2 separate regions of the Homo sapiens genome follow, and region 2 is linked to region 1. The links are contacts of gene promoters, found by promoter capture Hi-C in blood cells and fetal thymus (Javierre and others, 2016). All regions are on one chromosome and are shown on one strand. Each heading gives the region's core, a stretch centred on a gene start or on the middle of the fragment in contact. The rest is flanking DNA. Distances are from core to core; before and after follow the strand shown.

Region 1 (6,107 bases), core at 361-2,860:
ATCCCAAGGGAAAGCTTCTGTGTTCCATCCTGGACCTTCTAGGGGCTACCACGCTTCCACCAGGGCCGCTGCTCTCACCATAAGCTTCAGACTCTCATCTCCCGAGATCTTGCTCACAGCGCAGCTGCCTTCCGCTCACACAGGCCAGAGGGGCCACCTTGTCTCTTCTTAGAGCAACTTCCCACCACTCCCTTGGGGCTCAACCTTCGCTTTATGTTCTGTAAAAGCCAGCAGTTCTCAAACTTGAGACTGCATCAGGCACACCTGGAGGGCTTGTGAAAATCCAGAATGGTGAGTCCCGCCCCCCAGAGTTTCTGATTTAATAGGTCTTGAGTAGCCCAGAATTTGCATCTCTAACAAGCCCCCAGTGGAAGCTGAGGCTGTCATCTTCCCAGGCCGCACTTTGAGAACTGCTGTTGAAAGCCATCATCACTGAACTTATTTGCAGAGGTACCTAAAAATAATCAATCCACAACTGTTCCTTCTCCAAATGACCACTCTCTGATGTCTATCAAGAAATCCAAATTATTTACCAATTAATTTATTGGTAATTATGTTCCACCTATTTCAAAAAAAGTTTTGAGCTAACTCTAATTTTTGCTTAGCCATCAGCAGAAATAGTAAATTTACCTAGTGCATTCAGAAAAATGCTGTTCCTCCCAGGGAAAATAGTGTTTTCTATTGCTCCTGAAATCTGCTGACCTTGGCACTGACTCTGGTCCTCTTACATTAAGGTGAAGCTGGGGCGGGGTTGAGGAATCAAGACTGAGAAACCTTGCTGTCCTGCAGCAGAATAGAGATACATGGAAGAAGGAAGACAGAATCTTGGCTTTGAAGAGAAAGTGAGATGTGATGTCAATGATCCCACTAACACCAAAACCAGCAAACCAGCCTCCTTAAGGGTGGCCCCACCTCCCCACCCTTCCTACTTTTTCTACCAAGCCAAACCCAGAAATAGAACACGGCTCACTTCTCAGGGCTATTGCCTCTGCCTCATCTCCAGAGACCACATCTGCAGCTCCCAAAACAAGGTCTGTTCTGCAGCTGGACAATTCACTGCTAAAATCCCAAACCTAAGAGCAGAGCCAAAGCCAGAGGAGAGGAAAGTGACAATAGGGCCAAAGCCTCATTCCAGATTCCAAATGTCATTCTGTAGCCCTCGTGCTATCAACTGCTGCCTGCTGGCTGCAGCCAGGTCCCTGGGTCCATACACAGCCTGCATCAAGAGCCTGCAGAGACTCGGGGGCTGGAGATGGGAAACAGATGGTGGCCTGCGCTTTGTCTTTCCCAAGTTTACAGCCTCACCTGGGGGTGGAGGCTGTTCTGAGGGGCCCCCAAGAGGTAAGTTCACGCATCACTACTGACCCTCTCCCTGTGAAAGCAGAAAGTCAGCACGCATCCTACCCCAGACCAGACCAGCCACACCTGTAGATTCAAGGTCCTGGGGGAACAGTATTCAAATGCCTCTGCTCTCAGCCTTTTACTTCTGACTGTGGTTCCCAGCGAGTCTAAAATTTGAGAAGTGAAACTGAACATCCAACTGCCTTGGTGAGGGGAGAGGAAGAAATTTTACAGGCTTTTTATTGGCCGGTTATTTTTCTGTGTGTCCCATACAGGCCCCCACCATGAAGGGTTTCACAGCCACTCTCTTCCTCTGGACTCTGATTTTTCCCAGCTGCAGTGGAGGCGGCGGTGGGAAAGCCTGGCCCACACACGTGGTCTGTAGCGACAGCGGCTTGGAAGTGCTCTACCAGAGTTGCGGTAAGCCCTTGCAGTACACCCATGTGTGTTTATGGGGAAAGCAAGGCCCACAGATGTGAGCCGCTAGTGCTCAGTTGGAGTTGGGGTGGGAGGGGAGAGGGGACCAGCAGCTGAACACTTTCTCCACCTGCAGCAGGTCTGGGAGGGCCACTGGGAGCTTTTGGAAGAAGGAGCGGTGGGGCCAGGACTGGGAGCGGAAGAGAATGGCAGAACAACAAAGAGTACAAGAAAGAGAAATTGAATCTAAATATAGCCATTTACTAACACCACAGAACCCAAAAAAGAACAAAATGATCAGTGAGTCTACCAAATCATCAAACCTCACCAGCTGAAAATTAGGAAAAGCAGCTTCCAGTAGGCCCTTCCTCAACACCGTACACCTGGGCTACCTTTCCATCTGATGTACTTTGCAAGTGAAGTGAAAAGATCACTTCTGCCCAAAGAGAAGATTCCTGTCCCTCTCTGGACACTTTCAGAGCTTTCACTGCAGCAGTAGCTCTCATGAATTCAGCAAGCACTTCGCATGCAGCTATCAATGCCAGGGTTTCTCAGTGCTAGAGATAATAAAAGTGCATATGCCAGGCCTGTCACCCCAGCGGGCCAACCCAATACGCCAACAGATAATTGCAATTCAGTGAAGAGAATGCAGTGAACTGTGGTAAGAAGTGTCAGAACCAACCAATCGGGCTGTGTCTTAGTCAGCTAGGGCTGCCATAACAAACCACCACAGGCTGGGGACTTAAATAACAGATTTATTTCCTCACAGCTCTGGAAGCTGGGCTGGTTTCTCCTGAGACCTCTCTTCTTTGCTTCTAGGTGGCATCTTCTCCCTGTCTCCTCATGTGCTCTTCCCTCTGTGTACATCTGTGTCCTCATCTCCTCTTCTTATAAGTACACAATCATATCAGATTAGGGCCCACCTCCATGGCCTCACTTTAGCTTAATCAGCTCTTTAAAGACCCTATCTCCAGCAGGGCATGATGGCTCACACCTGTAATCCCAGCACTTTGGGAGGCTGAGGAGGGTGAACCACTTGAGGTCAAGCATTCAAGACCAGCCTGACCAACATGGAAAAACCCTGTTTCTACTAAAAATATAAAATTAGCTGGGCATGGTGGCACGCGCCTGTAATCCCAGCTACTTGGGAGGCTGAGGCAGAATTGCTTGAACCCAGGAGGTGGAGGTTGCAGTGAGCCAAGATCGTGCCATTGTACTCCAGCCTGGGCAAGAGGAGCGAAACTCTGTCTTAAAAAAAAAAAAAAAAAAAAAAAAGACCCTATCTCCACATACAGTCACATTCTAAGATACCGTAGTCCCCCCCCAGTCTGCTAGGAATACGTTCCAAGACTCCCAGTGGATGCCTGAAATCATAGATCGTTTTGAACCCTACATATACTATGGTTTTTGGACCCAATAAATGAGACAGCTACTAAGTGACGGACAGGCCGGTAGTAGAGACAACATGGATATTCTAGACAATTCGTGTTCCTGGTGGGCTGGGCAGCACGAGATTTCATCATGCTACTCAGGAGGATGCTCAATGTCAAACTAATGAATTATTTCTGGAATTTTCTATTTAATATTTTTGGACTGCAGTTGGCTGAGAGTAACCGAAACCTTGGAAAGTGAAATCTTGGATAAGGGGGCTGTACTGTACTGGGGGTTGGGACTTCAATACATAAATTTGAGGGGATGCAATTCATCCCATACAGGGCTCCCAAGTGGGGAGCAACTCAGGAGCCCAGCCTCAGGATCACATCTGCTGTTAGAGGGACTGGCTTGTGCAAACGCATGGCATTGTGATATCTGCCACTTTGGAGGGAGATGGGGGCAAAATGCCGTTTGAACTACAGGAGATGGAAAAGAGAAGTTGATTAAGCATCTGAATTGGCCTCACTCTAAGCTGGGGAGTGATGAGGATGCAGTGCTTGAGCAAGTACCTGATCCTACAACTGCCACCCAAAGAGCTGCCCAGAGAGGTCCAGATGGTCACTCTAGTCACCAGGGCCATTTGTTCAATTTGACCTCACTTTTAAAAATAAGGGACATTGAAGTGCACACACACACAAAAATTAAAAATAAGTAAAAGAGAATGAACGACTGGATGCTGGAAGTGCTGATCTTGTCACTCTAGGTTTTCCCATGGCGTCAGGACCACTAGTATCCCATTCATTTTCAGTGCAGGATGAGAAGCAAGATGTGAGATAAATGGACTGGTCAGGGTTGGTTTTTCCAATTCATCCTTGCATAAAGGTTGCCACAGCTGATCTGTCTCCCAGACTCACCCTCTGCCTGCAGCCAGGCTGGTGCATCCTTTCAAGTCACTTGCAAGAGGACTGGGCACGTCAGGGAAAGAACAAGGACACATCACCTGCCCACAGGAGGATGGCTCTTTCCTCTGTAGGTGAAGTTTCCCCATGGAGTCAGTGAATGTCTTAGCCAAGCCACTCAGAATAAGAGATGGAAGAGATGCAGTTCTCATCCAAGGGAGTGGGACGATCAGACAATTAAGCAACAGGGTAAATGCTTTGTGTGAAAGGCTGTAGTGAAGGCAGGCATTGTGCACCAGGGACATAGTAGTCAGACGATGGTGAGGTTGGTATCTGGATCTGTTGGAAAAGGAGTCACCAAGCCTAAGTTGAGGCTTAAAGACTGATGAAAATACTAATGATAACACCTCATGTTGGTGGAGGCCACCAGGCTAAGTACTTTACATGCATCATTCTTATGTTGCAGATGTGTAAACTGAGGGATAAAGATGTTATGACTAGTGAACTTTTCCAAGGCCACACAGCTAATAGTGGCAGAATTATATCCCCAGGGTCACAGAGAAGGTAAGACATTGAGGAACTATTGATGGAATTAAAACAAATTGATCCCCAGCCTGCCTGACTCCAGAACCCATGCTCTAAAACTCCCTGTGGTCTAGAGTTTAATCAGCAGGCAAAGTGGACTAAAGGAGGGGTGAGAGGAGAAGTTTGGCAGAGACAATGACATGCGTGAAGGCAGGAAAATGGGACCAGGCACAGGGTTCAGGGAACTGCGGGAGGGCTGAAAACACAAAGGGCTGAAAGAGGAAGTGGAAGACATGAGCAAGACCCCAGACAATGGCGGGCTGCCTCCCTTTGGCCAGGAGGTTGCATTTTGGAAAGATCCTCGGGCAGTAAGCAGGAGTGTAGATTTTGAATTGGAAGCTATTTGAGGCTGAAAATAGGGTTTTCTCCAGGTGGAGCAATAATTCAGGAAAGAAACCACTAAGGCCTAAGTTGACATCATTTCCGCAGTCTTGATAACCTTGAGGAGAAGGGAAACTTCACAAGCAGTTACTGGGCTCTGAATACTGACTAGGAAGTAAGCAGTTTTCTGAAAAAGCAGAAGTCCTGGCCTGGCCAACTGTCAATGACACAGGAAAGAAGAGAGCCACTGTCTTTACTAAAGCAAAAGGAGGAGCAAACACAGTCAGGGCCTTGGGTTTGCTAAATCACGAGTCCCACGGTTACAAAAGCCCAGAGACTCCACTCCATGCACAAACCACAAACACCCACCGATATATTTATTTATATGCTGCCTCCAGCATATACACGAAGATGTGAGGAGATGACAGAAATACTTATGATTGGAAGGGGAAATAAGCAGCAGTGGAAGAAGCAGGGTGAGGGGAAGCATAAGGGAAAGTGCTATGGACTGAATGTTTGTGTCCCCTGAAGATTCATGTTAAACCCTAATCCCAGTGTGACAGCATTAGAAGGTGGGGCCTTTAGGAAGTGATTAGATCATGAGAATGGAGACTTCATAAATGGGATTAATATCTTAAAAGAAGAGGCCAGAGATCTCTTTTCACCACATGAGGACACAATGAGAAGGTGGCTGTCTGTAAACCAGGAAGCGAGCCCTCACCAAGAACCTGCTCCTGCTGGCTCCCGGATCTCAGATTTCAACCCTCCAGGACTCTGAGAAATCAATGTTGGCTGTTTAAGCCCCCCAGTCTATATAATTTGTTAAACCTGCCTGAGTTGGCTAAGGGGAAATCATAAAGGCAGGAGAGGTTAGGACACATGTAACAGATAGAGCAGCATGAGAGGTAAGAGCTTAGAATCTGGAGTCAGCAAAGCTCATTCAAATCTTGGGCAACACTCTAGATCTCATGTTATTGTTTGTAAGGAGGGTGTATTCGTTTCCTGTTGTTGCTGTGACAAATTTCTACTTGGTGGCTGAAAACAACACATGTATTTGCTCATAGTTCTGTGGTCAGAGTCCAAAATCAATTTCACTGGGTAGACAGGGCCTGGGCCTTGCTCCCTTAGAAACTCTGGGGGAGAATCCCTTTCTTTTCTTTTCCAGCTTGT
Region 2 (6,215 bases), core at 2,985-5,484, 660 kb after region 1:
TTGCCCATCTCTACGCCTCCCACTGAGCCCTAGTGAAACCAACTGTGAGTGCTCTTGACTGCCCAACCGCCAGTCTAGATCAGATCCTCTGAGGGTATGAAAGGGTAAGCTGGTTTGTTCACTGCTTCCCCAGCTTCCACTTCCACATAACTCACCAGTATCTTTGAGTGAAGAAAGATGTGGGTGCCCACGGAATCTTAGCCTAACTTGGACCCCTGTGAGCCAAAGATGACCTGGAGTTCAGCCCACTGGAAGCGCACACCAGTGCTGGCAGGCACGCGTTTGCTGCAGACCATCCTGTTAATGTTTAACCATCAGCCGCCACATTACCTGTTAGTCTGGAACATTTTCTTTCATCCTGGTTTAGAAAGCTGCCCTGTGATCTTCCCATAGTGGTTCCACAGTAGCGAAAGCAGCCGGTAACTGAGGGAGCTGAGGGGGAGCCCTTGGGTTTCCATGTTTACAAATAAGTCTTAGTAACTCCGTGCTGGATGTGCATTTTGCATTCAGCTTCTTTATCATAAGGGAGGAACAAAGACTGGGGCTCCTGCTGACATCTGCAGACACAAAGCTGAGTCGGAATTTGTGGTCTTAGCTTCGGTTCAGCACCAAGTGTATTTATAAGTTTGCAGTCATAGGTTTTGTTGTCCAAATCCCAACAAAGCCCTTTCCCACCTCCACCCCACCCCGGAAGTTATATAGGGTTCCTTGAAGGGACAAAGCCTCTAGAAAAAGAAAAGTCACTGAAAGTTGTAATGTGAAACCAGCAAAGAGAAAATACATGTTTGGTTTAGTTGTGGTCACAGTCCATGGTGAGAAAAGGGACTGAGATTTAAGTGGGAGGGAAAAGTTTAGGGAGGCAGAGTTTAGTGATTTCAAGGAGGATTTTAAAATGCAGATGAGCATGATGGACATGGGGTGAAGCCTTCATTCTGGGTTCCCCCCCCCCAGTGAAGTTTAAAAAGTGAGGCTTTGAAGGAAGACCACTTAAAAAAAAGGGGGGGGGGGAAGGAAATGACCAAGGAGGTCCTTGAGGGGTTTTCTAGGCTTGTATGCCTAGGTGGCATTTTCTTAAAATTCCTACACATGTTTTATAATGTAGGTCTGACATTTTTCAGTCTCATAAAGTCCCCCAAAAGAATGCTAAAAATGCCACAGTGGGGGCAGTTCTCCCTTAAAGGTCCATTTTGAATATTCAAATTTCAACTGAAATTCTTCATTCACTGTCCTGGACAGAGAGGCAGCCTGGCCCCCTCTGCCCTTGAGGGATATGCCCTTGGTCCTTCCTCCGATGATGCCCCGTCTTTGTGTTTGTAGGCACCTACATAGGGCTGTTTTTAATTCGTATAAACATGAAAGTGTTTAAGCTCTCCCTTAATGGTGGCCGCCTTTACCAGCCCAGAAGTCCCACATGTCAGCATGGACTACACCTCAGGAAACCCTCTCCATCCTCAGATGCTTTGGGTGGAGTGCAGACACAGCAGCTTCCCCTGCAAAGGCACCCCTGCCAGGTCAGATAATTACTTAGGTTGGTAGTCTGTCACAGTGGTTGAGGCTCATTTAATTTTTAGGAAGCAATAGATCTTTAATTGTTGAGCTGACTAGGGCTGTCTCCACAGTCCTGTAGGAGGAGCTGCGGGTTTATTATCTACCAGGATTCCTTCTGCTTCCTCTAACAGTTTTCTTAGTTGTTGAACAACACAAACCGAGGGACTGATGGGGAGAGGGAAGAACTGCATATTTTTAAGGTAGCATTGCTTATAAAAAGTCATCAGCTCAGCTACCTGCATTTGGGAGTCTGGGTGTTGAGGGCGGGGATTTATACAGCACCTGGCCTTATAAGTTGAGTATTCATGATAGGTGAAGAGGTGAAGTTTTTTGTTCATGAGAATCACTAATGAAAATCAGTTGTTTAGAATGTGAAGGGCACAGCCTACACTGCTAAAACACTCCCCCTAGTGGGAGTTTGGTAGAATACAACCAAGCCCCCTGTGTCCAAAGAGGGAGTTGGCCTTTCATTGTACTCCGGGTGATCTCTCTCCATTATCCGCGCAAAGGAAGGGCCCGAGAGCAGGAACAATTTGATCTTATATTTCTTTGGGTTTTGTTTCAAAATTTATTTTACTTTCTTTAAAGCTCTATCATGTTAAATATGTTCTGTGCAGTTAAAATAATGCATGTTCTTTGCTGAAAAAAAAAAAATAGAAGTGTAGTCTAGGATATACTGGGGACAAAGGGGAAGTAACCAGAGATTAAACCTTCTTTTAAAAATTACCAGTCGGGCGTGGTGGCGCATGCCTGTAATCCTAGCCCTTTTAGAGGCCGAGGAAGGTGGATCACCTGAGGTCAGGAGTTCTGAGACCAGCCTGGCCAACATGGTGAAACCCTGTCTCCACTAAAAATACAAAAATTAGCTGGGCATGGTGGCTCACACCTGTAATCCCAGCTACTTGGGAGGCTGAGACAGGAGAATCGCCTGAACCCAGGAGGCAGAGGTTACGGTGAGCTGAGACTGCACCACTGCACTCCAGCCCGGGTGACAGAGCAAGACTCCATCTCAAAAAAAAAAAAAAAAATTACTTACAAAGGCCAGCCACAGTTGCTTATGCCTATAACCTCAGCACTTTGGGAGGCCAAGGCAGGAGGACCCCTTGAGCCCAGGAGTTCGAGACCAGCCTGGGCAACATAGGGAGACCCTGACTCTAGGGAGGGAAATTACCCACAAAGCCAGCAAACAAATTGAGCGTTCTGTATTTTTATTGTAGAGTTTATACCAATATCCATTCTATAGATGCTCTCTGTTGAAATGATTCAAGAAAAACGAACATCTAGTTTTTCCTTGGAATGTGGCCCAGACATTGGTGTGCATATCCCAGGACTCATATTCTTTAAGCTTTTGGATAATTTTGCAAAATCATTTCTTCTTTAAAATGTTATATTCACACCATAATATTTCTTTCTGAAACCTCTTGAGATACCCAAACAGTGGCTGCCAAAAAGTGCAGTCAGTGTAAAACTAATGAAATGAAATGATGTAAGTAGCCGCGTTATGCAGATGGCTGTGGGTAAAGCCTAAAGCCCCAAGCAGGTGTGAACAGTAGGTACTGTCTCCTCAGACCTCAGGACGGGGCAGAACCAGCTCCTTACCCCAGCCCTCCTGACCGCCTTGATGGCAAATCATCAAGCATGTGACATTGAGGAGGTGTGATGGATGCAGGTTGACATTGTAGTTACACCTGATCACGTCAAGTGAGAATCCAGGTTAGGTGCGTGAATCTGCTGGCTCAAGGACTGCAATCACATCTGGCCTATTGAGGGAGGGGCATCTCGTACTTGTGCCATAAAACAATGACTTTCATCCACCCAATTATCAGAGGAACTTGAATCCCTGCAGTAATAAATCAGACAGTGGCCGGGCACGGTGGCTCACGCCTGTAATCCCAGCACTTTGGGAGGCTGAGGTGGGTAGATCGCCTGAGGTCAGGAGTTCGAGACCAGCCTGGCGAACATGATGAAACCCCATCTCTACTAAAAATACAAAAATCAGCTGGGCGTGGTGGTGGGCGCCTGTAATCCCAGCTCTTGGGAGGCTGAGGCAGGAGAATTGCTTGAACCCGGGAGGTGGAGGTTGCAGTGAGTGGAGATCACACCATTGCACTCCAGCCTGGGCGACAAGGCGAAACTCCGTCTTGAAAAAATAATAAAAACTAAATCAGACATAGGATCTGCAGCTAAATAATAGGTCCCACCAGCTTCCAATGTACTGTCGTAATGCATAATTTTAAGAAGTTATTAAGTCTTCTTTCAACCTTAGTAAAGAGAAGGCCTTTTGACACTGTTTGATGTGAATATTGCAGCCGTGCCATCCCTTAAAAGGACTGTTGAAAACTGATAGGCTTTCCACATACAGTTTTACTGGGTGGAATGGACAGATAGGAACAAATCAAGAGGCAGGAAGTCAGGGTAGGTGAGATGCCTGGAACCCAGAACCCCTTGTCTTCACAGGCACCCACAGCCCTTCACAGTCCGCTCCCCTCACTGTGTGCTGTTGCCAAGCCTGGCATCAAGGGTGCCCTTCCTTTGAAAGATTCCACCACCCCTGGGAGGCTGACAGCTAGGAAGCCTACAAGCTTGCCTGCGCCCCCTTGGGTCTCTGCAGCCTCCACCTGGAGATGAGCGTCAGGCAAGAGTGTGCATACCATACACACACAACGCAGGCTTGGGGTCGTTTCCTGTGAAACTCATCAAGACCATGCTTTGGAGGATTAGGGGTAGGGGTGGTCCTGTGTATGTTGCATGTTTGTATGATCTCTTTGCACTGGAAAAATAACTTATAACTCAAGCTTCCTCAACTTCCCTAGCGCTGCGAGTCTCTGGAATGCACCCCTCTCCTATCTCGCAGCCCCTGTCTGCCCTGCCTGAGTCACTCACACCTTCCTGGGGGCGGGGGCAGTGGAAGCCAGGGGTTCAGGGGCACAGCCAGCCCTGGGAACACACCTGAGGTGATGTGGAGGCTGCTTTTGCCTTTCTTCACGTCCCCAGGGTCATCTTGGTCCTCCTGGGGGATGTAACAGGTGGTGAGGATTTGGGCCGAAAGAAGTCCTCACTGGTTTGGGGTTCAGGCTGCTGGCGTGGGTCTAGCCCATTCCCGGCGACATCCCTGGCATGGGCGTACCTGGTGGTGCCCCTCTGAGCCCTCCCCGCTGTGCTTGCCCCACAGACAGTCAGTCGGATGCGGAGACTGCAGCCGCCGCGGGCGAAGTGCTAGACCTCACCTCACGGGACAGAGAGCAGCCGTCGGAGGGCGCCACTGAGCTCCGCCAGGTCGCAGGGGATGCGCCTGTGGAGCAGGCCACGGCGGAAACGGCCTCGCCGGTGCACCGGGAAGAGCACGGGCGTGGGGAGAGCCATGAGCCGGAGGAGGAGCATGGCACTGAGGAGAGCACTGGGGACGCCGACGGCGCGGAAGAGGACGCGTCGAGCAACCAGAGCCTGGACCTGGACTTCGCCACCAAGCTCATGGACTTCAAGCTGGCGGAGGGCGACGGCGAGGCAGGCGCCGGGGGCGCGGCCTCGCAGGAGCAGAAGCTCGCCTGCGACACCTGTGGGAAGAGCTTCAAGTTCCTGGGCACCCTGAGCCGCCACCGGAAGGCGCACGGCCGCCAGGAGCCCAAGGACGAGAAGGGAGATGGCGCCAGCACTGCAGAGGAGGGGCCCCAGCCCGCCCCTGAACAGGAGGAGAAGCCCCCCGAGACCCCGGCAGAGGTGGTGGAGTCGGCCCCGGGTGCCGGGGAGGCCCCGGCGGAAAAGCTCGCGGAGGAGACGGAGGGCCCCTCCGACGGGGAGAGCGCGGCCGAGAAAAGGTCCTCAGAGAAGAGCGACGATGACAAGAAACCAAAGACAGACTCCCCCAAAAGCGTGGCCAGCAAGGCAGACAAGAGGAAGAAGGTCTGCAGCGTGTGCAACAAGCGGTTCTGGTCGCTGCAGGACCTGACCCGGCACATGCGCTCCCACACAGGTAACCAGGGCAGGCCAGGTCCCCGGCCCAACAAGAGGAGGCGAGCCGGGCACCTCTCCTAGGAGCTCCCCTGAAGCGGCGCTGGAGGCCACCGAGAGAACGTTTGCTTACGTTGCCGGTGTGCCCTTTAAGCCCGTGAACTAGGAGTTTTAAGGAGTTGTACTCTCAGCCCTTGAAGACGGTGCAGGCCTCCTGCAGCCAGGCAGGAGAGGGTCCTTGGCCGTTGTGTTTTTGAGAACGCTGTGATCCGCCTTTAGCTCTGCTGCCTCCGCCTCCCCATCTGTAGAGTGGGGGTAACAGCTGCCCTGTTTCATAGAGGTATCTAGGAGAGGGTGCTTGTGCTGGGCATTTGGGCCACTTAGTCCTGTCTAGTCCTGTGGCCTGGACGACAGGCACTGCCCCAGGCCGCTGTGGGGCAGGCACCCTGGGTGATCCATTAGGGTCAGGAGGGCCTTTTCCTTTCTTAGCCGTGCAGTTCGGCTGAGATGACTGGGACAGGACCCTTAGCCACTGCCCTTCACACCGTTCTAGAGTTCACCCACCACCTGCAGGGTGGAGGCTGCAGACCCCAGAGCAGGGGCGCTTACTTTGACACAAAGACCTGAATATGCTCATGGAGTCCAGAGATATATCCTTCTTCTTTCCAAAATAACCTGTCCCTCCTCTCAGCCGCAGCTTCCCTCCCTGTCACAGCTGC

What was found. Contacts are between HindIII fragments. The CHiCAGO score rates a contact against its expected background, and 5 or more counts as called.
Region 2: a fragment that was not itself captured here is called in contact with the fragment with the promoter of LY86 in region 1 in 1 of 17 cell types (naive CD8 T cells); the score reaches 6.7 in naive CD8 T cells.

Annotation. Positions count from the first base shown.
Region 1 is chr6:6,587,110-6,593,216 of GRCh38, forward strand. It overlaps LY86 (lymphocyte antigen 86), which reads left to right and starts at 1,611. Exons shown (of 5, transcript NM_004271.4): 1 at 1,611-1,761. The coding sequence starts at 1,626. The region is part of intron 1 of LY86-AS1 (LY86 antisense RNA 1); the gene reads right to left. RefSeq lists an enhancer at 8-137. The HindIII fragment of the contact is 13,475 bases long and covers 83-6,107 here.
Region 2 is chr6:7,241,704-7,247,918 of GRCh38, forward strand. RREB1 (ras responsive element binding protein 1) reads left to right here. Exons shown (of 13, transcript NM_001003699.4): 12 at 4,721-5,518. Among named protein-coding and RNA genes, the nearest start is that of SSR1, 68 kb to the right of the region's middle. The HindIII fragment of the contact is 213 bases long and covers 4,129-4,341 here.